Regions from separate parts of the Homo sapiens genome. Here all the other regions are linked to region 2. Evidence: promoter capture Hi-C in human tissues and cell types (Jung and others, 2019). All regions are on one chromosome and are shown on one strand. Each heading gives the region's core, a stretch centred on a gene start or on the middle of the fragment in contact. The rest is flanking DNA. Distances are from core to core; before and after follow the strand shown.

What was found. The method cuts DNA at HindIII sites, captures the fragments that hold promoters and counts their contacts. A contact is called where the count stands out against the background at its distance.
Region 1: a contact is called between a fragment that was not itself captured here and the fragment with the promoter of SLC25A1 in region 2, in 7 of the 25 tissues and cell types used here (H1 embryonic stem cells, IMR-90 fibroblasts, dorsolateral prefrontal cortex and 4 more).
Region 3: a fragment that was not itself captured here is called in contact with the fragment with the promoter of SLC25A1 in region 2 in 2 of the 25 tissues and cell types used here (lymphoblastoid cells and mesenchymal stem cells).
Region 4: a fragment that was not itself captured here is called in contact with the fragment with the promoter of SLC25A1 in region 2 in 2 of the 25 tissues and cell types used here (mesendoderm cells and spleen).
Region 5: a fragment that was not itself captured here is called in contact with the fragment with the promoter of SLC25A1 in region 2 in 5 of the 25 tissues and cell types used here (dorsolateral prefrontal cortex, lymphoblastoid cells, mesenchymal stem cells and 2 more).

The regions. Positions count from the first base shown.
Region 1 is chr22:19,316,054-19,321,332 of GRCh38, reverse strand. The region is part of intron 1 of LOC105372859 (a long non-coding RNA gene); the gene reads right to left. Among named protein-coding and RNA genes, the nearest start is that of CLTCL1, 27 kb to the right of the region's middle. The HindIII fragment of the contact is 4,176 bases long and covers 1-3,719 here.
Region 2 is chr22:19,174,992-19,180,363 of GRCh38, reverse strand. SLC25A1 (solute carrier family 25 member 1) reads left to right here and starts at 1,628. Exons shown (of 9, transcript NM_005984.5): 1 at 1,628-1,784; 2 at 2,124-2,231; 3 at 2,323-2,422; 4 at 2,499-2,637; 5 at 3,160-3,244; 6 at 3,414-3,518; 7 at 3,671-3,786; 8 at 3,870-3,943; 9 at 4,120-4,783. The coding sequence starts at 1,691. The coding sequence ends at 4,234. CLTCL1 (clathrin heavy chain like 1) reads left to right here. Exons shown (of 33, transcript NM_007098.4): 32 at 126-165; 33 at 395-891. The coding sequence ends at 145. RefSeq lists silencers at 1,032-1,131, 1,332-2,411 and enhancers at 1,583-2,330, 4,581-5,328. The HindIII fragment of the contact is 9,906 bases long and covers 1-5,372 here.
Region 3 is chr22:19,007,531-19,012,829 of GRCh38, reverse strand. All of the region lies in intron 4 of DGCR5 (DiGeorge syndrome critical region gene 5), which reads right to left. Among named protein-coding and RNA genes, the nearest start is that of FAM246C, 19 kb to the left of the region's middle. The HindIII fragment of the contact is 8,579 bases long and covers 1-5,299 here.
Region 4 is chr22:19,378,466-19,383,596 of GRCh38, reverse strand. The region is part of intron 13 of HIRA (histone cell cycle regulator); the gene reads left to right. Among named protein-coding and RNA genes, the nearest start is that of HIRA, 51 kb to the left of the region's middle. The HindIII fragment of the contact is 6,067 bases long and covers 5-5,131 here.
Region 5 is chr22:19,395,306-19,400,311 of GRCh38, reverse strand. HIRA (histone cell cycle regulator) reads left to right here. Exons shown (of 25, transcript NM_003325.4): 6 at 2,225-2,320; 7 at 3,365-3,525. Among named protein-coding and RNA genes, the nearest start is that of HIRA, 34 kb to the left of the region's middle. The HindIII fragment of the contact is 4,821 bases long and covers 1-3,719 here.

The sequences.
Region 1 (5,279 bases), core at 382-2,881, 140 kb before region 2:
TTCCCCTTTTTTTGAGACAGTCTTACTCTGTCACCCAGGCTGGAGTGCAGTGGTGTGACCACAGCTCACTGCAGCCTTACCCTCCAAGCTCAAGTGATCCTCCCAGCTCAGCCTCGTAAGTACTGGGACTACAGGCAGGCACAACCATGCCAGGCCAATTTAAATTTTTTTTTGTAGATGGGATCTCACTACACTGCCTAGGCTGGTCTCGAACCCCTGAGCTGAAATGATCCTCCTGCCTTGGCCTCCCCAAATGTTGGGATTACAGGTATGAGCCACCATGCCCAGCCTGTTATGTCTTCTCGAAGAATGGATCCCTTTGTCATAGGGATCATGCCCCCTTTGAGCATAGAGTACTTCATAATATTCCTTTACTATCTCACTTTCCACTGTGATGTAATGTGTTGCGGGAAGTCAGGGACCCTGAACGGAGGGACCGGCTAAAGCCATGGCAGAAGAACATAAATTGTGAAGATTTCATGGACATTTATTGGTTCCCCAAATTAATACTTTTGTAATTTCTTACACCTGTCTTTACTGCAGTCTCTGAACATAAATTATGAAGATTTCATGGACACTTATCACTTCCCCAGTCAATACCCTTGTGATTTCCTATGCCTGTCTTTACTTTAATCTCTTAATCCCATCATCTTTGTAAGCTGAGGATGAATGTCGCCTCAGGACCCTGTGATGATTGCGTTTTCTGCACAAATTGTTTAAACAATGTGAAATCTGGGCACCTTGAAAAAAGAACAGGATAACAGCAATGTTCAGGGAACAAGGGAGATAAGCTTAAAGTCTGGCTGCCTGTGGGCCGGGTGGAACTGAGCCATATTTCTCTTCTTTCAAAAGCAAATAGGAGAAATATCACTGAATTCTTTTTCCCAGCAAGGAGCATCCCTGAGAAAGAGAATGTATCCCTAAGGGGAGGCCTCTGAAATGGCCGCTTTGGGGACGTCTGTCTTTTATGGGCATAGATAAGGGATGAAATAAGCCCCGGTCTCCCGTAGCGCTCCCAGGCTTATTAGGATGAGGAAATTCCCGCCTAATAAATTTTGGTCAGACCAGTTGTCTTTTCTCAAACCCTGTCTCCTGATAAATGTTATCAATGACAATGCATGCCCAAAACTTCATTAGCAATTTTAATTTCGCATTGGTCCTGTGATCTCACCCTGCCTCCATTTGCCTTGTGATATTTTATTACCTTGTGAAGCACGTGATCTCTGTGACCCACACCCTATTCATACACTCCCTCCCCTTTGAAAATCACTAATAAAAACTTGCTGGTTTTGCGGCTTGGGGGGCATCACAGAACCTGCCGACATGTGATGTCTCCCCCAGACACCCAGCTTTAAAATTTCTCTTTTGTACTCTTTCCCTTTATTTCTCAGACCAGCCAACACTTAGGGAAAATAGAAAAGGACCCAGGTGAAATATCGGGGGCTGAATTTTACCCGATAGTAATGCCCCTTTTATCCATGATAAAAATATTAGCAAATCAAATCCAACATTGTATGAAAAAAATACAACATGACCAAATGGGATGTATTCCAGATATGCATACTTGTTTAATGGTTGAATATAAGTTATTGTAATCAATCACATCAATTAAGTTAAAAAAGAAAATCATGATTATATCAATACATTTAGAAGAAGCATTTGACAAATCTAACACCTATTCATGATAAAAACTCTCAGCAAACTAGGAATAGAAGGGAACTTTCTCAATTGATGAAGAACATCTACAATAATTCCACTATGTATGTATGTATGGCTAACATCATACACTACTTAATGGTGAAAAATTATATGCTTTTCCCCTAATATCAGGGAAAAGGCAAGGATGTCTCTTGTCACCACTCCTATTCAATATTGTACTAGAAGTCTTAGCTAATACAATAAGACAAAAGAAGGAAATAAAAGTATAAAAATTAGGAAGAAGGAAATAAAGTATAAAAAATTGCAGATAACATGACTATCTATGTACAAAATCCCAAAGAATCAACAAAAAACTCTGAGAACTAGTAAGTTATTATAGTTACATTGCAGGATATAAGGTTAACATACAAAAGTTGATTGCTTTTCTTTAACCAACACTGAACAATTGGAATTTGAAATTGAAAATTTAATACCTCTTACATAAACACCAAATAATCAAAATACTTAGGTATAAATCTAACAAAATACATACAAGCTTTATATGAGGGAAACTACAAAACTCTGATGAAATAAATAAAAAATCTAAATTAATAAATGGAGATAAGTTCCATGTTCATGGGTAGGAAGACTCAACATTAATGTGTTAGCGCTTACCAATTATAGATTCAATTTAATTCCAATAACGATTCCAGCAAGTTATTTTGCAGATATTGACAAGCAAATTCTAAAGTTTGTATGGAAAGTCAAAAGATGCAGAATAGCCCACTCAATATTGAAGACAAGCAGGGCCAGAGTACTCACACTACTCAACTTTGAGACTTACTATGAAGCTACAGTAATCAAGACAGTGTGACATTGGTAAAGGAACGGAGTAGAGAACCCATAAATAAACCCAAACAAATGAAATCAACTGATCTTTGATGAAGGAACAAAGGCAATTCAATAGAAAAATATTAGTCTTTTCAATAAATACTGCTCTAATAAATGCACCTGTAGTCCCTTCTACTCAGGAAGTTTTGCATTTTACACATGCAAACATAAAAAAAAGAATCTAGACAGAAATTTTTAACTGCTGCTCTGAGAACATCATTGCTAAGAGAATGAAAACCCACAGACTTGGAGAAAATATTTGCAAATAACTTTTCTGATAAAGGATTTGTATCCAATATATACGAATAACTCCCAAAATGCAAAAATAAGAAAATAAGCATTCCAGTTTAAAAATGGACAAAATATCTGAACGGAGCTCACCAAAGAAGATATACATATGGCTATAACCATATGAAAAGACGCTCTACATCATATGTCATTAGGGAATTACAAATTCAGAACACAATGAGAATTAGCTGGGCATGGTGGCATATGCCTGTAGTCCAGCTACTTAGGAGGCAGAAACAGGAGGACCTCTTGAACCCAGCAGTTTGAGGCTGCAGTGAGCCATGATCATACCACTGTACTCCAGCCTGGGCAAGAGAGTAAGAACCCATCTCTAAAATAAATACATAAATAAATAAATAACAAAAACAACAATGAGAAACCACTATACACCTATTAGATAGGCTAAAATCCAAAAACCTGACAGTATCAAATGCTGACAAGGATGTGGACATAGAAAAACAGGAATTCTCATTCATTGCTCTTGAGAATACAGCCACTTTGGAAGATGATCTAGTAGTGCCTTCCAAGCTAAACATAGCCTAACCATATGGCCCAGCAATTTCACTCCTAGGTATATACCAAAATTAGTTGAAAACTTATATACACATAAAAACCTACACATGAATGTTTATAGCAGCTTTATTCAAAACTGCAAAAACTGGAAGAAATCAAGATATCCCCTCAATTGGTGAATGAACAAACTGACACATTCATACATTGGAATATTATTCAATGATAAGAAATGAGCCGGCTGGGGGCAGTGGCTCAGGCCGGGCACGGTGGCTCATGCCTGTAATCCCAGCACTGTGGGAGGTCAAGACAGGCAGATCACCTGAGGTCAGGAATTCAAGACCAGCCTGGCCAACATGGTGAAACCCCTTCTCTACTAAAAATACAAAAATCAGCTGGGTGTGGTGGTGCGTGCCTGTAATCCCAGCTACTTGCGAGGCTGAGGTAAGAGAATTGCCTGAACCCAGGAGGTTGAGGTTGCAGTGAGCTGAGATCGTGCCACTACACTCCAGCCTGGGCGACAGACCGAGACTCCATCTCAAAGAAAAATAAAAAAGAAAAGAAAAGAAATGAGCTACCAAGCCATGAAAAGACATGGAAGACCTTAGATGGATATTGCTAAGTGAAAGAAGCCAATTTGAAAAGGCTACATACTGTATGATTCCAACTAAGTGACAATTTGTTGTTTTTTGTTTTTTTTTTTTGAGACAGGGTCTCACTCTGTCACCCAGACTGGAGTGCAGTGGCATGATCTCTGCTTATCGCAACCTCCACCTCCCAGGCTCAAGCAATTCTCCTGCCTCAGCCTCCTGAATAGCTGGGATTACAGATGCATACCACCACACCTGGCTAATTTTTGTATTTTTAGTAGAGACGGGGTTTCACCGTGTTGGCCAGGATGGTCTCGAACTCCTGACCTCAAATGATCCACCCGCCTCAGCCTCCCAAAATGCTGTAATTACAGGCATGAGCCACCACGCCCCACCTAAGTGACATTCTATAAAAGGTAAAACTACAAAGACAGTGAAAGATCCAGTGGAACTGTTGTGGGAATCAGGAGACTGGAGAGACCAATAGGTAGAACAGGGGGATGTTATTGAGTGCACTCTGGCCTAGTGGATTAACATCCAAAGACCGGGCCTAGAACAAAGACAGAACTTGACTTTTATACACACTTCTGAAAAGGGGTTGGCTAGTTTGAAACAAGGTTACAGTGATGCGAAGTGTAGTGGTGTGAAAGCAAGTGTATAGAAGCAGAACAAAGGCAGTTAATCAAACTATGACAGTTAGATTATGCCTGCTCAGGCATGTCTCATGACCTTTGCTGTGCTGCTCGGATAAAAAACAGAATACTTGAGGTTACTAGTTACAGAAAACAGGAATCTGGCCAGGCGCAGTGGCTCACGCCTGTAATCCCAGCACCTTGGGAGGCTGAGGCAGGTGGATCACAAGGTCACGAGATCGAGACCATCCTGGCTAACAAGGTGAAACCCCGTCTCTACTAAAAATACAAAAAATTAGCCAGGCATGGTGGCGGGCGCCTATAGTCCCAGCTAGTCAGGAGGCTGAGGCAGGAGAATGGCGTGAACTCAGGAGGCGGAGCTTGCAGTGAGCTGAGATTGCACCACTGCACTCCAGCCTGGGTGACAGAGCGAGACTTCATCTCAAAAAAAAAGAAAAAGAAAACAAAAGAAAAGAAAACGGGAATCTATAAAGTCATAAATGTACTCATACCATAGGGGAAAGGAAAATAAGGAAAATTTGTTTTTCTTCTCCTTATGTGGAGGGAGTGCTGGGAGAGTCTCCAGAGCACATTCCTTTGAGCCCTGGCTTCTTAGATAATGTTATCGAGACTTTGCCTGGGTCTGGGCTTTGCCTGTTACTGACTTTGGGATGAGCCAGCCTAATACAGAAAGCTTGTTTTTTTGAACATATTTTTCTCTTTTTAATTT
Region 2 (5,372 bases), core at 379-2,878:
GTGCTTGGACACTGTGGGGCAAACACAGGCCTGAGGGTGTGGTGTGAGTGTGCAGCACGCCGGCGGGTCTCCAGCGTCCGGCTGAGTGTGTCCTTCCACCATTAATGTCATTCTGGTTTTTTTAGATTTTGATGGGCATGAATGAGACCCAGCTGATTGCACTAAGTAAGTGTCCCATTTGGAGACTAGCTTATCCTCTAGCCAGGCCAGGTTCTCTGGCTGACCCCACGCTCCTTGCCTCTGGATGCCTGCTCTCTTGGGGCCTCAGCGTCTGGGTGGTAAGGGCTGGTCCTATAGACCCTGCTCCCTGGGCCCCGGGCTACTCAGGGGCAGCCAGGAGAGGACCCCCATGGGCAGGAAGAGCTCTGCTCATTGTGGGCTTCCCCCTCTGCAGGCCCTGCCGTGGGCCCAGCCCCTGCCAGCTTCCCCTATGGATATGCCTCTGCTCCCAACTTCGCCAGCCTCCAATGTACAACTTCCGCGTGTAGTGGGCGTTGTCACCACCCACCCTACCTGCAGAGTTACTAACTTCTCCAAGGAGCATGTCACTCCAGCAGCACAGGGGACGCAATGGGAGGCAGGGACACCTGGACAATATTTATTTTTGCTGAAACCCAATGACGGCAACCTCTGAGCCATCCCAGAGCCTGGGGAGGCCAGGGTAGAGGCTGACGGCGCAAGACCAGCTTTAGCCGACAACAGAGACTGGACTGTGGGCCCTCCTGCTGGAGCCAGGCCTTCCTCCTGGGCGCCTCCGACTGGCTGGAGCTGCCCCCTCCAGGCCAGTTTGAAGACTACATGAACACGTCTTGTTTGGAGGTACCGGACCTCATAAAAGGACTCTCAGCCTCTTGGCAATCATAAATATTAAAGTCGGTTTATCCAGGCAAAGGTGCTCTGCTTGGTGCTGGTATGGGTAGGAGGGACGGGCCAGTTTCCTAGGCCCCGCAGTCCATTAAAGATTTGCTGGGTCCTCTTTGGGGTGTGGGACCTCCGTTGCCCAGACAAGCTGCCTAGGAGAATACAGCCGCTTGCATTTGTGGTCTTTCCTGACCTTGTTCGCTGAGCGCAGAAACTACAACCGGGAAAGGTGTGGGTGGGAACCGGCAGGTGAGGCCCGGCCCGTGGCTGCTGCGGGAGGGGGGCCCGGCGGCGTAGCCCCTTCTCACCGGCCTCCCGCCTCCCGCCTCCAGGTTTGAAACGTTAGAGTTCCTCTGGGACTGGGCTAGCCCCACGTGTTTTCGGGGAGGGTGTGCCCCTGGCCTCCGGGATCCCTGGGGATCCCGCCGCTCTCGACAGTCGCGCAGACCCGAGGCCCGCTATCCCGCGGCGCGGCACACAGTGCACCTTGACCCACTGCTCGGAGCTGGGCCACGGCTCCGCCTCCCGCAGCCCCGCCCCCGTCCCGCCGCTCGCGGTCGCCCAGGGACTCGGCCTCGGCCATTGGCTGCGCTTTGGCCCCGCCCCTACGCCTGCCTCGGCGCGCCCCGCCCAGGCCTCAGTTTCCCGGCCCGCACGGGGCGGGCTGGGGGCGGGGCCTGGCTCGGACCACGCGGGGCGGGACCTGGAGCTGACGCGGCCGCCCCGCCCCTGGGACCATAACCGGCCGCCGCCGCCACCGCGGACCGAGCGCGGAGTTCTGGAGTCTCGGACCCGAAGCCGCCACAGGGCGCCCCGCCTCCCGCCCGCCATGCCCGCGCCCCGCGCCCCGCGCGCTCTGGCGGCCGCCGCGCCCGCGTCCGGGAAGGCCAAGCTGACGCACCCGGGGAAGGCGATCCTGGCAGGTGGGCCCCTCCGGGACGCGGACCCCTCTCCCGCCGCGCTTCTGGGTGGGCCCGGGACGCTGAGGCCCCGCCCCACTTCCGGGTTGGGCCGTGGGCTGGGGAGTCGTGGAGGCGCGGTCCTGGTCCCCACCCGGCGCGCTGGGACTCGCCCGCCTCCCGTCTGTCACCCCCTGCGCCTCGCCGGGACAACGGGGTGAGGGCATGGGGGCGTGGGGCCCCAGCCTATGTTCCCCGCGGCACTGGCGCGGCGGCCGCGCCGACCGAAGTCCGGGACGGGGGAGGGGCCCGAGCGCCAGCGGCCGGGCGGGAGTCTCAGGAGCGGGTTCCCGGTCCCTGCAGGCGGCCTGGCGGGTGGCATCGAGATCTGCATCACCTTCCCCACCGAGTACGTGAAGACGCAGCTGCAGCTGGACGAGCGCTCGCACCCGCCGCGGTACCGGGGCATCGGTGAGGAGGGGGAGGCCGCGGCGCCGCGGGGGGCGGGTACCCAGGGCGGCGGCACCGAGGGCCGTGGGGTCCTGACCGCCCCCTCCCCCAGGGGACTGCGTGCGGCAGACGGTTCGCAGCCATGGCGTCCTGGGCCTGTACCGCGGCCTTAGCTCCCTGCTCTACGGTTCCATCCCCAAGGCGGCCGTCAGGTGAGGCCCGGCCGGTGGCTGCTGCGGGAGGGGGGCTCGGCCGCGGCAGCCCCTCTCACCCGCCTCCCGCCTCCAGGTTTGGAATGTTCGAGTTCCTCAGCAACCACATGCGGGATGCCCAGGGACGGCTGGACAGCACGCGTGGGCTGCTGTGCGGCCTGGGCGCTGGCGTGGCCGAGGCCGTGGTGGTCGTGTGCCCCATGGAGACCATCAAGGTGGGGAAGGTCCTGGCGAGGACCCCGGACACGCAGGGAGTACGGAGACGGGCGGCCCCGCTGGCCCGGTGCTCCCGGGGCAACCGGCAAGCTGGGGAGGGTCTCCTGGACGCCAGGGAAGGCCGGCGGGGTGACCGCGGGGCCCTGGGGCAGGACGCCTGCCACGAAGGGCCACCCGTGGAGGCTGAGTCTATGCTAAAGGCAGCCTTAAAGTCTTTAAAAAATACTTTTATAAAGCAGAAAACAAAATGACACCTTCACTGCCAAAACTGGAAAAGAGCAGCAAACATAAAGGGAGAGGCTGCTCACAGGGCTGCCCTGTGTCCCAGAGCATGGTCCGTGTGGGCTGCCCTGTGTCCCGGGGCATGGTCCGTGTGGGCAGCCCAGGGCGGCCTTGGCTGCACTGCTTCCTGGGGAAGAGTTCCCAGTTCCCTCCACCCTGGATGGGCCCTGGGCCTGCCAGCTAGCCAGGACCCACCCAGGTGGCAGCCGAGAACCTGCGCCTTTGCTTCTCTCTCTCAGGTGAAGTTCATCCACGACCAGACCTCCCCAAACCCCAAGTACAGAGGATTCTTCCACGGGGTTAGGGAGATTGTGCGGGAACAAGGTGAGCCACTCGACCTTCCTGATAGGGCTCAGGGACCTGGGCCAGGGTGGGAAGGGCCTGCACCTCCCATCCTGCCTTGGGCTTTGTGCAACACCCACCCCCCACACACACCAATTCCCAACCGGGGCCTGAGAGGCTGCAGGGTAACCCCGTGCCTGCCTTCCCGCAGGGCTGAAGGGGACGTACCAGGGCCTCACAGCCACTGTCCTGAAGCAGGGCTCGAACCAGGCCATCCGCTTCTTCGTCATGACCTCCCTGCGCAACTGGTACCGAGGTGTGTCTGCATCACAGGGCCCCATCTCTGCACATGGCCAGCTCCTCTCCTCTCCTTGGGGCCACCCCTGGGTGGCGGGCACCCACCTTTTGAAGTGCTGATCCAGGCCCCTCCCGGCACCCTCTGACCCACCTCACCCCTCCTATATCCAGGGGACAACCCCAACAAGCCCATGAACCCTCTGATCACTGGGGTCTTCGGAGCTATTGCAGGCGCAGCCAGTGTCTTTGGAAACACTCCTCTGGATGTGATTAAGACCCGGATGCAGGTGGTGGGGCCGGGAAGGGGAGGGGAAGGGGGGACCAGGCCAGAGCTAGCTGCTGAGCCCCTGCCTGCTGATGTCCCCCATAGGGCCTGGAGGCGCACAAATACCGGAACACGTGGGACTGCGGCTTGCAGATCCTGAAGAAGGAGGGGCTCAAGGCGTGAGTGGGGGAGGGGCAGGGCTATTGTCCCCACCTCAAACCTTTCCCGGCCTACCTGGCCTGCCCACTCTGTCCCCTTCAGGCCTCTGTGCCTCTCACTTCAGTATCTGGGGATTGCCCTGTGCAGGGACACTGTGCTGACCTGCCTTCCTCTCCCCGCCCCTCCTCCCACCCAGATTCTACAAGGGCACTGTCCCCCGCCTGGGCCGGGTCTGCCTGGATGTGGCCATAGTGTTTGTCATCTATGATGAAGTGGTGAAGCTGCTCAACAAAGTGTGGAAGACGGACTAAGCCTAGAGAGGCCGCAAGGGGACCGCCCCAGGCACCGCCAGAGTGTCCTGCTACCTTTGTCTCACGATTCCAGTGCAGTAGTGCCAAAAGGCCCCTTCCCACGTCCCTCGAGCTCTGTAGCCTGGTCTGTGCATTGTGGCTGTCAAATCCATGTGTCCCCCCTGTGGTCTGTGTGTGACACCACCACTGTGTCCCAGTGTCTGGCCCAGCCATGGCTGGATGTGCATCTGGCCTATGACCCTGTGCCTGTGTTTCATGTTCTGTGTCACGTGACCCTGTGCCCCGCCTCCCGGGGTGCCCGTGTGGCCTGGGTCCTCGGCCCTGTAGCCCTGGCCCGGTCCCAGTCCGGTGCCTTCCACCCTGCCCTGGCCTACCACAGCTGCCTCCGGGCCTCGGCCTGGCTTCACCGCATTCCAGGGGCTGCAGCCCCCTGCTTCTCCCGCCATTGGCCTTAACTGGCCCTCGGGCCCTCTCTCCGCCCCGGACAGGGTGGCACCCACCACTCTCAGGACCACCCTGCCAAGGCAGAATAAACCGGATCCTGTTGCAGCCTCCTGTCCTGTGTTCGTCCCTGTATGGACCCATCTATGCATGGGCATTGGTGGCTGTGCCTCTGCAGGGGACCAGGCCACCCCCATCTGAGGACACTGCAGTAGGGGGACAGGGAAAGCCTAGTGTCCACCCAGGGCAGAGCAGCTGTGGCCACAGTGTTGGCTCCCTGAGAAGCCCAGCGCCAGGCCAAGAAGGATCTGGGTGCACCCTGGCCTTCCCTGTGGCCTCTGGGCAAGATCCCGTGGCATGGGTAAAAGGGTGTGTTGACAAGGCCTAGGGGTGGCCTGGCAGAGTGTTCAGAGCAGGGGGCTGGGCCCAGGAGATGGAGCCCCCAGGACGACTGCCTGCCCCTCACCCACAGGGAAGCTTAGGGAAGGGTTGGGTTGCCCAGGGCCCCTCTGGGGTATGCCCAGCTCCTCAGTGAGTGAAATGGGCTGCTCGTGGGGAGGAGGAGATGGGGGCACGTTGAGGCCTCTGAACTCCAGGTGGGGGTGGGTGTCTGGCATCTGCTACCCAAAGGCTCTGGGCAGGGGCCCTCCCTTGTTCCTTCACCTGGGCTGGGAGGCAGCTGCCCTGGGGCAGCAGG
Region 3 (5,299 bases), core at 1,396-3,895, 170 kb after region 2:
TGTACAAATCAAAGTAGTTTATAAGTAACTAATCTCTAAAGTCTCTTCCAGTTCTAAATGTCAGTGACTCCATGTGGAGTGTATTTCTGTTATTCAATTATGAAAGTTCTAATACAGTACCATTAGGTTAAGAACAGGCAGAAAAGGCTGGGCACAGTGGCTCATGCCTGTAATCTTAGCATTTTGGGAGGCCGAGGTGCATCACTTGAGCCCAGTTCAACACCATCATGGGCAACATAAGGAGAATCTGTCTGTACAAAAAATTTAAAAATTTAACTGGGTAAAGTGGCACATGTCTGTAGTCCCAGCTATTGGGAAGGTTGAAATGAGAGGATCGCATGAGCCAAGGAGGTCAAAGCTGCACTGAGCCGTGATCACGCCACTGTACTCCAGCCTAGGCAACAGAGTGAGACCCTGTCCCCACCTGCCCCCCCAAAAAAAAGAGGCAGAAAAAGGGATCAATATTTTCAATGAATTAAACAGAATTTAACTCTGGTGATTTATGATTTAGGGCTGTCACATTATGAAATCTAGAATACATAAAAAGAGAGAGAGACACTGCACTAATTTCATTAATTTCAAGGACTGTTCATATTCTTTTTTTTTTTTTTGAGACAGAGTTTCGCTCTTGTCGCCCAGGCTGAAGTGCAGTGGCACAATCTCGGCTCACTGCAACCTCCACCTCCCAGGTTCAAGCTATTTTCCTGCCTCAGCCTCCTGAGTAGCTGGGATTACAGGCGTGCGCCACCACGCCCAGCTAAATTTTGTATTTTTAGTAGAGATGGGGTTTCACCATGTTGGTCAGTCTGGTCTCAAACTCCTGACCTCAGGTGACCCACCCACCTTGGCCTCCCAAAGTGCTTGGGATTACAGGCATGAGCCACTGCGCTTAGCCTTTTTTCTTTTTCTTTCTTTCTTTTTTTTTTTTTTTTTGAGACAAAGTCTCACTCTATCACTGAGGCTGGAGTGCAGTGGCATGATCTTGGCTCACCACAATCTCCCCCTCCTGGGTTCAAGCGATTCTTCTGACTCAACCTCCTGAGTAGCTGGACTACAGGCGTGTGCCACCACGCCCAGCTAACTTTTGTATTTTTAGTAGAGATAGGGTATCGCCATGTTGGCCAGGCTGGTCTCAAACTCCTGGCCTCAAGCGATCCGCCTGCTTCGGCCTCCCAAACTGCTGGGATTACAGGTGTGAGCTACCACGCCTGGCCTGTTCATATTCTTTAAGACTTGTTTCTGTTCACAAAAACTGGCCATCAACTATGATGCCAAAAAGTCACACAATGAAAGTCATACCACTTTCCTGCCAATTTGTCCCTCCTCTATTAGCCAGTAAATAAACTCAACATATTCTTATATTTTCAATCTTCTTTTATATCCTGCTAATAAAAGTAAAATTGTCTTTGAACTAATCTTTCTTCCTCCGTAAGTTAAATATTCTTTCATTTGATAATAATTACATTGAAAACCACCCTCCATTGTCATGTCAACGTGGATTACTCATCACACTTCTCTGGTTACAATTTGCCTTTGGGTAATGACAAAGTTAAATATACACAAGGGCACCAAATCACAAACTTTGCACTTATAATAATTAAGACAATACAGCACTGGCACAAGAATAAACTAGTAAAACAGTCTCTGAAGAAGCTGCATATTTATAGACACATGTTTTATAACCAAAGCAGCAATGCAGAAAACAAGAGTCTTCCAGCAAATAGTGCTAGGTCAAGTGTATACACAAAGGGGGCAAAGATAAATGCTGAGACCTATTTCACACCATATCAAATATAAAGTCCAGGGTTTTCTAACTACGATTTTAAATCTGAAATTGTAAAACAAAGACTTGATCGATGTGACTACATAAAAATTAAAATCTTAAAAATAAAAAATCCTTTTAATTAAAAAAAGTGAAAATGTTATTGCATGACGAGAAAACCATCATAAATAGAATTTAAAAACATAAAAAACTGGGAAAGTATATTTGCAATATCTCACAAGTAAATGCTTAAGGTCCCTAATACATCCAAAATGGTTTAAAATTGAAGGGAAAAAGACCAAAAAAAGACAGAAGAATGAGCAAAATGAATGAATCACACAATCAATTTACACACACACACACACAAATACAGAAAATGATGATCAACCTAACTCATAATGAGAGAAATGCAAATTAATCAGCACTTGTCACTTATCAGGGTGCACACCTGTAATCCCAGCACTTTGGGAGGTGGAGGCGGGCGGATCGCAAGGACAGGAGATCGAGACCAGCCTGGCCAATATGGTGAAACCCTGTCTCTACTAAAAAAAAAAATACAAAAATTAACTGGGTGTGGTGGTGCATGTCTGTAATCCCAGCTACTTGGGAGGCTGAGGCCTGAGAATCGCTTGAACCCGGGAGGCGGAGGTTACAGTGAGCTGAGATCGCGCCATTGCACTCCAGCCTGGGTGACAAGAGAGAAACTCTGTCTCAAAAAAAAAAAATCATTCAGCCATAGAAAGGTGTGAAGTACTAACACATGCCTCATGGAAGAACCTAAAAAAAATGATACCTGAAAGATGCCAGTGACAAAAGACCACAAATGATTCCTGTTACATGAAATGTCTGGGACAGGCAAACCCATGGTGGCTGCCTAGGGCTGTGAGGTGGTGAGAATATCCTAAAATTTATTGTGATGATGGTTACACAACTCTGTGCATACATTAAAAACCACTGAACTGTCCAACTTGGTGAGTTGTATGGTATGCAAGTTATAAAAAAAAATAACACAACTAAATCCTAGAAACTCAACTTTCAGGAGATAATTGTATAAGGTATCTGTGGTAGCCCCATAAGCTATTGATGTCTTACTCTCTGGAACCTCTGAACATGTTCACTTACATGGCAAGAGAGTTTGCAGATGTGATTAAGAATTTTAAGGACAGGAAGATGATCCTGAATGGTCCAGGTGGACCCAATCAAATCACACAAGACCTTAAAAGCAGATAACCTATGGTCAGAGTGACGCAATGTGACAACTTGACCAGCTGTTGGCTTTGAAGATGGAGGAAGGGGCCACAAGCCAAAAAACATGGCTGCCTCTATAAGCTGGAAAAGGCAAGGAAACAGATTCTCCCCTAAAGCCTTGAGAAAAGAACACAGCTCTGCTGACACCTTGATTTTAGTCCAGTAAGAGCCATGCTGGACTTCTAACCAACACAACTCTAAGCTGAAAACTATGTGTTGTTTTAGCCACTACATTTGTAGTAATTTCAATAGTAACAGAAAACGAATACACTATACTATAAATAATTTGTTTTATATAGAAAAGAAAATGAATCTAATGGATCTTAATAAATCATCTGGAATAAATGAAGAAGAGTAAAATATCAGAAACATGTGACATAAAAACCTCAGAACCACAGATAATTGGGGCAACAACATTCCTGAAAATACCAAAAATATTTTTTATTAATTTTTGCTGAAGTATAATATACATGAAGTACCCAAATGATAAGTACAGCTAAAAGCATTTTCACAAAGTGAATACACCATGTAGCCACCTCCCCCAAATCAAGATACAGAATGTAATCAGAATCCCAGAAAGCCTCCCTCAATTCCCCTAAAGATAACCACTCTTCTGACATATTATAATAGATTAATTCCCACCACTGTTTTGGCTTCATTTAAATGGAATCATAGTTCAGACTCCCGTGCATCTGGCTGCTTCTGCTCAATATTATGCGTGTGAGATTCATCCACGCTGCTGCATGTTGCAACAGTTTGTTCTTTTTTTTTGCTTGTTTTGTATACCTTATATATCACAATTCATTTGTCCATTCATGTCTTGATGATTATTTGGGTTGTTTCCAGCTTTTGACTCTTAAGGAGACTATTCAACTTCAGCAGATAGTGCCAATGTTTTCCAAACTGGCGAGAACAGTTTAGAGCCCTATCAGCAGGGTGCAAGTGTTCTTGTTTCTCTGCTTCCTTGCCAACACTTGGTATTATGAGCTTTTAAAATGAGGCATTCTGTGTCTAATCTGCTGCAGGCACAGCAAAGCCTGGCTATAATTTTTATTTATTTATTTATTTATTTTTGACACAGAGTCTTGCTCTGTCGCCCATTTTGGAGTACAACGGTGCAGTCTCAGCTCACTGCAACGTCCGCCTCCTGGGTTCAAGCAATTCTTCTGCCTCAGCCTCCCAAGTAGCTGGGACTACAGGCACATGCCACCACACCTGGCTAATTTTTGTATTTTTAGTAGAGACAGGGTTTCACTATGTTGGCCAGGCTGGTCTCAAACTCCTGATCTTGTGATCCGCCCGCCTCGGCCTCCCAAAGTGCTGGGATTACAGGCGTGAGCCACTGTGCCTGGCCACTGTACTTTATTTTTTAAATGCTAATAAAAATTAGATCCTGAAATTTTTTTCACTTGCTATTAATTCTCATATTTTACATGCATCTTTGTTAGTATTTCCTACATCATAATCATGTCTGCAAATAGAATTTTATTTCTTTCTTTCCAAGTATTATACTTCTTATCTCTCTTTCTGCCTTTCTGCCCTGACTAGAACTTTATTTTTTAATTTTTTGTAGAGATGGGCATCTAACTATGTTGCCCAGGTGAGTCTTGAACTCTTGGCCTCAAGAGATCCTCCTGCCTCAGTCTCCCAGTAGAGCTTTACATACAACACTGAATAGAAGTGATGAGAGCAGGGTCTTGTCTCTTTCCTCATCTCTGGAAGAAAGCTTTCAATAAGTCACCATTAGGCTTAATGTCCACTATAAATATTATTTTGTGTAGATACCCTTTATCATCTTTTTAAAAGTCCCTTTATTCCCAGTTTGTTAGAAATTTGTTCTGTGGGGGTTTTTTTGGAAACTAATAAACAGGTGTTGAATTTTATCAAATGCTTTTGTTCATCACTTTGATTAGATCACATTTTTCCCTCCACTTTGAGAACTTACTCTGAAGGATTTTAATTCATTGAAATTTTTTGAGAGTGCATGTGGCCAATTCTGATGAATATACTGTGGCCAATTAAAAGGAATGTGCAGGCCAGGCGCGGTGGCCCACACCTGTAATCCCAGCACTTTGGGAGGCCGAGGCGGGTGGATCACCTGAGGTCGGGAGTTTGAGACCAGCCCGACCAGCATGGAGAAACCCCGTCTCTACTGAAAATACAAAATTAGCCAAGCATGGTGGCACATGCCTGTAATCCCAGCTACTCGGGAGGCTGAGGCAGGAGAATCGCTTGAATCCGGGAGGCAGAGGTTGTGGTGAGTCGAGATCACGCCACTACCCTCCAGTC
Region 4 (5,131 bases), core at 1,789-4,288, 200 kb before region 2:
GGTCTTATCTGGCGAGATCTTCCTGTCTTCTTTCAGCGGTTAACACTTTCACAGTGAGGATCTTCACGGGTCCTTCACAACCTGACTGGTAGAACATGGAAGCAAGGAAGTGAAGCTCAGCTTCCCGCAGTCTCAAAGCCCATACTCCTCCTGGAGCCCTTGTGCACACCTGAATCATGTGAGGGGTGGGAGTGCTAAGGCGGCCAGCACATCTGCTGCACTTCACTGTTGCCAGGGCACCAGAGGACGCACAAGGAAAGCAGTCAGTCAGGCTGATTTTTTTTTTCTTTTTTTTCTTTCATAAAGTTATTTTTATGATTATGAAAGGTATATTTACACATGGTTAAATTTAGAAAATAGTAAAAGCCCAAAGAAGAAAAAAACATTATCCATAATCAGATACAGTCACTGTTAATGTTTTTATATCTGTATTTCCAGTCTTTTTTTTCCCCACTCGTTACTGTTTCATGCCCATTCATCCATTTTAATAACTAGTCCTCTGAGGTGTTTGCTATCTGATTATCCAGATTCCCATCCTAGGATTTGCTTAGCCAGCTCACTGTAGACTTGTGTTTGTGTCCAGTTTCTCGTGATTATAAATGAGTCTTTGAGCTCACCTGTGGTTGTTCTCTCAGGATAACTTCTAGAAGTGGAATTACTGGGCAGAGAGTAGGGCTCCCAAACATATTTCCCTGTGGGGGACAGAGAAGGGGGAAGAGACTCATTCACCACTTGCTGTTGTCCCAGTGTATATAGTGAAGATTGTTTTTGAATTGGTTATTCTTCCCAAAATGATGTGTGTTGATTCAAAAAAAAAAAAAAAAAGAAAGAAAAATGATAAAGCACTGTGTGAAAGAAATAGACCCCCACTGTCAAGGCAGTTCACTCTGGGTTTTATTCTCATTCCGTCTATCTGCTCAGGGCATTTGTAAGCCCTTCATGGAGGCCACACACTTTAGGCCTCTGCGTTTTGCAGTTGTCCATCCACGAGCTATTCCAAATCTTCCTTGGTGTCTAAAGAAACCTTCACTCGTACAGTGTACAGATCCAGTCTCCTCATGTTAGATGTGCAGGCTCTGAGGTCCCCACGAGTAGAGCAAGAACCAGGTCTGCTGGCTCCCCACAGAGCACTCATTTTCTTTTGACTAAGTCTTTTTCCTATTGTGACCCTGTAGGGGGTAATGCCCCTACCTACCTTTTATTGAGACCAAGTGAGACCCAGTGTGTGGTTGAGCTCTGAACATACTGGGCCTGTGGGATGGGGAGGTGGTGGTGGTGATGGTGACACTTTGTTCTGTGGATCCTTCCAGGCGTTACCTGGTGAGAAGGTGTAGGTGGCTTCCTAACTGGTCTGGGGCCAACTTTCTGACATAGGATGCATATTTCTAGCATCAGGACCTGATCCTTTTGGTATTAAAAGCTTTTTGCCCTCCTGATTCCCACGTTCTAACACGTAGCAACAGGATAGGTCCTTATTAGCTTAGCTAATCAAGAAAGAAGAGAAAAAGCATAAATATACAAAGTAGGTATAAGTGAGAAATAATAGACAAATCAAAAAGATGAGAGACTTCTTTGCTGAACTCTGTGCAAATAAATTTGCACAGAAAGTGGATGGTTTTTGAAGAAAATAAAATTACTAAAAGTGAAAAATTATTGTGGAAGAAATAGAGGACAGAGTTAACCCCACCAAAGCCACCGGACTAAGATGGCTTCACAGGGAAACTTCAGGAACTTTTAAGGAACAGGTAACTCAGGTAACTGTTAATACCATTTTAAATATTCTAGTGCATGGAGAAGAAATGTGCAAATTTTTATTTTGAAATGAACATAATATATCAAAATCTTACAAGGATAAAACATAATAAATTCAAGATCATTCTCATTTCTGAATGTCAGTGCAAAATCCTAAGTAAAATAGTAACAAACAGAACCTTACTGCTTGTTAAAAGGCTAATATACCATGACCAAGTGAGGTTTGTTTTGGGAAAGTAAGGAGGTTCAAATTTTAGGTAACTATTTAATTCTACGTATCAGTAGATCAAAAGAAAAAAAATTATATGATCTCTCATCGATGCTTAATAGGCGTTTTGGTAAAATTCAACGTTGTTTTAAAACTCAGTTAAATGGGAATAGGTGGATGCTTCCTTAACTTGATAAATTATCTTATTTCAAATTAAGTTCAAAAACTAAACAAATGCCTACTCTTGCAACTATAATTTAACATTGTTCTATAGGTCCTAGCCCATGTAGTTAGTCAAAGGAAAGAACAAATTGGAAAGGATAATTATTTAAGGATGATATGGTTTATAAGAGAATCAACTGGAAAAGCTGCCATAGGCAATGAAAGAAGATAGTCACATGGCAGGATACAATCAACATGAAGTCAGGTAGCACCAACTACCCTCAGAGCACATAAAGAAATAAGTCATATTCACAAATAAAATAACTAGGATGCAACCAGAGATGCATATCTTAATGAAGAAAAAATTAAAAACCCTACTGAGAGGCTTCAAAGAAAACTCAAAGAAATAACTAGAAATTCATACCATTGATTAGCTAGGATGGCATCATAAAGATGTCAGCTCTCTTGTAGCCTATAAATTTAACCAGTACAAATAACCGTAGGAATTTTGGGAATCAGACAAGGTAACTATAAAGTTATGTGGAAAAATCGACTGGGCACAGTGGCTGACAACTGTAATCTCAGCACTTTGGGAGGCCGAGGCAGGCAGATCACCTGAGGTCACGAGTTTGAGACCAGCCTGGCCAACATGGTGAAACCCCGTCCCTACTAAAAATATAAAAATTAGCTGGGAGTGGTGGTGCCCACCTGTAGCTACTGTAGCTACTACCTGTATCCCAGATACTTGGAGGCTGAGGCAGGAGAATTGCTTGAACCTGGGAGGTTGCAGTGAGCCAAGATAGTGCCACTCTCCAGCCTGGGTGACAGAGTGAGACTTTGTATCAAATAAATAAATAAATAAAATAAAGTTATCTGGAAAAATAAATAGGAATGGCCGAAATATTTCTGAAAAAGAAGATTAGCCAGGGAAGACTAGCCCCACCAGAAATTAAGACTTAAAAGCTGTCATAACTCAAAACAGTGAGATACTGACACATGAGTAGATAGTGCAGTGGAATATGATAGAATATGAGGAAACAGGCCCGAATATTTATGGGAATTTTAAAGGTAGCATTTCACATCAGTGATAAAACATTGGCTAATTCGGTAAATGGAAGACAGGACTACATGGCACCTCCTAGAAACAATGTTGGGTCCCAGCCTCATAACTTATCATTACATACATTCTAAACAGCTTATAGTTTGTTTCTTTTTAAATTGTTATTTAAAATATTTTTGTTTAAAATTTTAGAAGATTCCCTGGAAGAATATTTTTTATAATCTCAGAGGTCAAAAAAGTGTTTTCTGTAAATGACAATTTAGAGTACACAAAAATTTTAAAATTTTAGTGCATTTAAAAGATAGGCTGTCTGGGCGTGGTGGCTCACACCTGTAATCCCAGCACTTTCGGAGGCTGAGGCAGATGGATACAAGGTCAAGAGATCAAGACCATCCTGGCCAACATGGTGAAACCCCGTCTCTACTAAAAAATATAAAAATTAGCTGGGCGTGGTGGCACGCCCCTGTAGTCCCAGCTACTTGGAAGGCTGAGGCAGGAAAGTCACTTGAACCCAGGAGGCAGAGGTTGCAGTGAGCCGAGATTGCGCCACTGCACTCCAGCCTGGCGACACAGCGAGACTTCGTCTCAAAAAAAAAGGCCATAAATAGTTGAAACACAACATCCCAGGTAAAATATTTCCTACCATATAAGGAATTTTTTTAATATGTAAATGATTTTTACAAATCAGTAATAAAGACCAATAACAAAACAGTAGACAAAGCATATGAACAAGCAGTTCACAAAAAAAAAAAAAAAGAAATCAAGTATTTCTTTTTTTTTTTTTTTAATTGAGGCGAAGTCTCACTCTGTTGCCCAGGCTGGAGTACAGTGGTGTGATCTCAACTCACTGCAGCCTCTGCCTCCCTGGTTCAAGAGATTCTCCTGCCTCAGCCTCCCAAGTAGCTGGGATTACAGGCGCCTACCACCATGCCCGGCTAATTTTTGTATTTTTAGTGGAGACGGGGTTTCACCATGTTGGCCAGGCTGGTCTCGAACTCTTGACCTCGTGATCCACCCGCCTCGGCCTGCCAAAGTGCTGGGATTACAGGCATGAGCCACTGCGCCTGGCCGGAAATCAAGTATTTCTACTTTGAAAAACTGCCGGCCGGGCACGGTGGCTCACACCTGTAATCCCAGCACTTTGGGAAGCCAAGGCGGGCGGATCACGAGGTCAGGAGATCGAGACCATCCTGGCTAACACGGTTAAACCCCGTCTCTACTAAAAATACAAAAAATTAGCCGGGCATGGTGGCGGGATACTCGGGAGGCTGAGGCAGGAGAATGGCGTGAACCCGGGAGGCGGAGCTTGCAGTGAGGCGAGATCGCGCCACTGCACTCCAGCCTGGGCGGCGGGAGAGACTCTGTCTCAAAAAAAAAAAAGAAAAAGAAAAAATGTCAACGTCACTCATATCAAAATAAGATACCATTTTTCTTCTGTCAGATTGTTAAGTGTCAAGAAATTTGATAAAAGTGTTACTAAGCACCTATGTGGAGAAATAGGCGCTCTCATACATGGCTTGTAATTTAAACCTCTGAGGAGGGCACTTTAGAAATATTTATTCCAAATCATCAGTGAACATTTCATTTGCTGCTACAATTCCACTTCTAAGAATTTATCCCATATATTATGTGAATCTTAGGTGTAATGACAATTATTAGAATTTCATAATTCTTTGAGCAGCCAATGTGTGTTCTAAGAGTGTCCTACACCAACTGCTTTAGTCCTGACAGCAACCCCATGGGGAGAGTCCTGGCACTTTGTATTTTGCAGACATGACTGGAGGCACAAGAGTAGTTAGAGCAAGTCACAAGCTAACAAATGGCAGAGGAGTCAGACCTGGCTGTCCCAGAATCCTCAGTTCTGACACTGCAATACCTTGCTTCCTGGTGCAGCAGCATCTGTTCTAGAAAAAGCTGGAGACAGTCTTGTGGTCCCTCAGTAGAGGCTG
Region 5 (5,006 bases), core at 60-2,559, 220 kb before region 2:
CACACACCAAACCAGATACTAAAGAGAGAAACATTCTAAATAACTACACAAGGAAAAAATAGAATTGAATATTTACCAGACCTCTAGCAGAGAGAATATTTTTCAAGGTTAACAAGGCAATAGAAGAAATCACAAAGGAGAATAACAGACTTTACTCCATAAAACTACTACAGTATAAAAAAGTAGAGAGGTGAAATTTGCAGTTAATAGCTGCATTATATGTGTCTGTGGAGATTGCTAAGAAAATCCCTTCTCCTTTCTGGGCTCCCACCTAACCACATATTCTCTGTTCTAGGATGTGGGCACTCCCCTGCTGTCCTGGCGTTTGCATGTGTGCCCCTCCAGGACTCTCAGTTACTAGAGAAAGTTGTTGTTTTCTTCATTTTTGTAGGCACTGCATTTATGTTGTTAGACCCACTGCCCGAAACACTTCCCAGTAAATGGTCACAATAAGTCAGCAAATCAGTCCAAAAACACATTAGATAAGAGACAAACGCTTTCACTAATAATCTAATTAAAAATTTTAAATATAAAATTGTATTGAATAAATAAGTCGGAAGGGGAAAAAGTCATCATCCTCAATGCTAATAAGGGAGTTTTGAAGCAAACAGTCTGCATGTAGAAATGTAAAACCACAGGGATCTTGGAAAAGCAGTCTACAGTTTTATGAGAATCCAGACCTATGAGGATGCTCAGATATTCTGCCCAGGATTCCCACTCTAGGGTATGCGTCTCAGAGTAATAATCTGGAGTATGGAGAGTGACAAATACACACGGGCCCAAAAAACCAGAATCCAGTTAATCTTCAGTGTTAAATTAGGTCAATTAATAGTAGTGAATACTCTCAACCACATAGAATGCAGGGCAAAAAAGGAAAGAAGCTGTGAAGATCACATAGGCATTTAGAATACAAAATGTGAACCACAGCATGTGAGACAATTTGAAAAAAAAAAAAAAACCTGTTAAGCTGTTACTATAGTTTTTTTTTAACTGGAAAAAATACAATAGATATTTGGAATATTTTGCTTAAACCTCTTGTACAAAGAAAGGACTTGATAGCTATTACCTTGCTGCTATGTTTGTTTCTTCAACTCACCAATCATTCTTCTGTATACCTAGCACTGCACCAGGCGCTGAGGTTAGAGAAATAACTAAGACTGCGCCCTTCACCCCTGATGGCAGGATAGGCAAGGTTGGCACCATCGTCACAGCGGACCCTCATCGATGCCTTGGTGTGTGCCTGGCATGGTGTTGCAGCAGTTTATCACATTTAATCCTTACAGTGACCCTATGAGGATAGGTTTTGGGGTTTTTTGTTTCATTGGTTTTTTTGTTTGTTTTTTGAGACAGGGTCTTACTCTGTTGCCCAGCCTGGAGTGCAGTGGTGCAATCATGGTCACTGCAGCCTTAACCTCCCTGGGCTCAAGTGATCCTCCCACCTCAACTTCCTGTGTAGCTGGGGATACAGGCATGTGCTACCAAGCCCAGCCAATTTTTTGTAGAGATAGGGTTTTGCCATGTTGCCTAGGCTGGTATTGTACCTCTGGGCTCAAGCGATCTGCCCACCTCAGCCTCCCAAAATGCTGAGATTACAGACGTGAGTCCCTGCACCTGGCCTAGATTTTGTTTTTTAATCTGCACTTAACAAATGATAAAATGGAGTCACAAAGAAGTGAATGTGAATAATTCTGTTTGGAGGCTCCATAGTGAAGGGGTACTCCTGTCAGGGTCTGGGAGATGAGACCCAGTCCATGAACCAGACGAGGGCCTCAAGATGACTTGTGTTCAGTTGTCAGCAGCCCTGGAGTTCTGACTGTGCCAGGCATTCTGCCATGTGCTTTACCCACTGTGTCTCATGCTCAGAAGGCTCTCGGAGGAAGGCCCTGTTATGATTGGCAAAGCAAGTCAGCAGGGCTGAGGAGCATGCTCCAGGCCACAGACCCACGAAGTAGCAGGCTCTCATGCATGGGTGTGGTGCCATATGGTGCCCAAGCTCTGAACCACGCCCTCAGTTGCTTCGTCTGTAAAAGGAGTGAGGCACTGGGGTCGGTTAGATGCTTTAAATTTATGACCAATTGAAAAATTCTGGGGGGAGTTTTTTCAGGTTGGTTAAAAAATACCAGAGTGGTTATGATGGTCCCAGGTCCCAGGGGCACTGGCCAAGCTAATAGACAAGGGCATCACCAGGTAAGAGATCTCACCAGAACCCTCTGTCTTCTTTCAGATGTGATGGATGTAGCATGGTCTCCCCACGATGCCTGGCTAGCCTCATGCAGCGTGGATAACACTGTCGTCATCTGGAATGCTGTAAAGTTCCCAGGTCTGGGGCCTCCTCTGACTGGTTAACAGCAAGCAGTACTGCCTGTCAGTTTCTGGAGCAGGGGTTGGGCTGTCTCCTTAGTCTTGGTGGCAACAGATGTGTCACAGTGGCCTAGGATTTATGTGTCTTGTCAGTTTTTCTTTGTCAGTTACATTTGTTTAAGCTTTAAAAAGAGATTCATGCTTAAGAAAAATGGTAACTGAGTGCTAGCATGGCATGCCACAGATCAGGAGGGTAATGGATGGGCAGCTGTTGTTGGGGACCCTGATGCTCCTAAACCTGCTGTGTGCACCCCCACCACTGGGCTCTGGGCTCAGCTCAGTCACCATCTCCTCTGTGAAACCCTTGAGCAGATACGGGCTAACACAAACCCAGTTTTGCAAAAGATTGATTTTTCTTATTCATTGTGTTTAAAGTCACAACAGATGGCATAACCTGGCACAGTGCTGCAGTTTATAACTAGTAAAATTCTTCTCATATTTCAGCTCTGTATTTGAAGTATGCTTTCCTTATGGATCCAGGTCATTTTAACTCTTTGAAAGCCACCAGCATGTGTGGAAACACTCAGTCTGGCTATGGAGAGGGAAGCTTTAGAGACCGGAGTAGCATTTGGATTACAGATCTATATGGGGTACCGTCGTACACACCTTTGTCTTCAGCCATAACTTATAAAAGACTCAGCCACAGTCAGGCCCTTTGAGCTAGTAGGCCTCCTCCTTATCAGGGAGCTACCAGGGAGGCTAACGTCAGAAGTGCTGGTGTCACAGCCCAGGAAGGGCAGCCATAGGCAGGGCCGCTAGATACAGATAAGACCTGGATCAGAACTAGCCCCTTGGTGCCTGCCTCCTTGATGCTGTCATTTCTTCAATTGGCTTTTGCCTTGGTGGAGATCAAATGAGGAGGCCCTTCTGCTTCTGTCTGGTGTGGGGGCTGGCCATGGCAGACTGCTGAGTCCCCTCTCTTGCATATCCATCCCATGGCCCATGGATTGCAGGTCATGTTTCCCTCAGACAACACCTCTCCACATTCCTTTTTTCTTCACAGAAATTCTAGCTACTCTGAGAGGTCATTCTGGCTTGGTCAAAGGGTTGACATGGGACCCTGTTGGTAAATACATAGCTTCTCAAGCTGATGACCGCAGCCTAAAGGTGTGGAGGACGCTGGACTGGCAGTTGGAGACCAGCATCACCAAGCCTTTTGATGAGGTAAGTGGGGACAGCTCAGGGAGCTGAGCCCCCGCAGCTGCCCCAGCCTCTTCCTGACTTCTGTGTACAGAGAGGGAGCTGGCCATGGGCCAGGCCACCTGGGGAATGCACAGAGTCCGGGGGCCTGAGCGGATTCACCAAGGCTCTCTGGGGTGGGACTCTGGCCCTAAGAGTCAGATAATACAGAATCCTTCATTTCTGAGACGCTGTTTAATTTCCAACTTTGAAATAAAAGGGATTTATAGTTTTGTTGTTTTTTGCTTTGTTTTGGCGACAGAGTTTCGCTCTTGTTGCCCAGGCTAGAGTGCAGTGGCACGATCTCAGCTCACTGCAACCTCCGCCTCCTGGGTTCAAGCGATTCTCCTGCCTCAGCCTCCTGAGTAGCTGGGATTACAGGTGCCCACCACCACACCTAGCTAATTTTTGTATTTTTAACAGAGATGCGGTTTCGCCATGTTGGCCAGGCTGGTCTCGAACTCCTGACCTCAGGTGATCTACCCGCTTCAGCTTCCCAAAGTGCTGGGATTACAAGCATGAGTCACTGCGCCTGGCCCGGATTTATAGGTTTAAAGTTGAAGTGAACCTTAGAGATGTCTCCACATCATTCTGTCACCCAGCTCACTCCCACAGACGTGGATAAAACTGCTTCTTATAGTGCGGAGTTTACTCTGAGCCTCCCGCAGAGCAGCTTGTTGGGGAGGATGGAGGAGACTCTTGTGCCATCCTCGACTGTGCTGTGCTTGTTGATATGCACCCTGCAGTTCAGGGGCCTTTTTTCCTGGCTGGAGTTAGCAGTACAGTTTGCACATGTTTGGAGATCAGACTGCAGTAGCTTCTCTGGTATTTTAATCTCTCTTCCGTTATTTGAGTTCTGATTTCAAATGGAATGAGAGCTCAAGATCACCATTGTTCATTAGACATTTATTAAGTGTCTACTGTATAGAAGGCAATAACTGGGCACAGGGAAATAAAAGTGGATTGAGATGGAGTCTCTCCTCTTGAAGCTTAAAGCCCCATAGGAAAGACAGGCATTCCCATTAGTTGCATGATAATGGAGTTGTCCAGAGTGCAGAAACAGCCCAGGAGAGGTGAGTGCATCAGGAAAGACTTCACAGAGCGAGGGACACATGAGGGAAGGTTTGCAGGAAGAGCACGCATTTGCCCACTGGTCAGGATGGCTGCAAAAGTAAAGTGATAGTCATATGTTCAGTTCTTCCCGCACAACACCAGCTCCTGGGCTAGGTATATGAGTACTGGTTTTTACCTTACTTAGTCTTGCCCTAAGGAGCTTTTGCTCCTTCTGGAGTTCCTCAGGGCTCTGACTGCCAGGCAGTGGGGTCCCATGAGGTGGACTCCTAGGGACGGCTTTAGGAGTGTCTTGAGTACCAGCAGGAGGTGGTAGTACTCTTCAGCCTCTACTGGGTGGGCCCATCCTTCCAGGTAGGGGGTGGTTCTGTCACCTAGGCTGAGAGCTGAGGTGG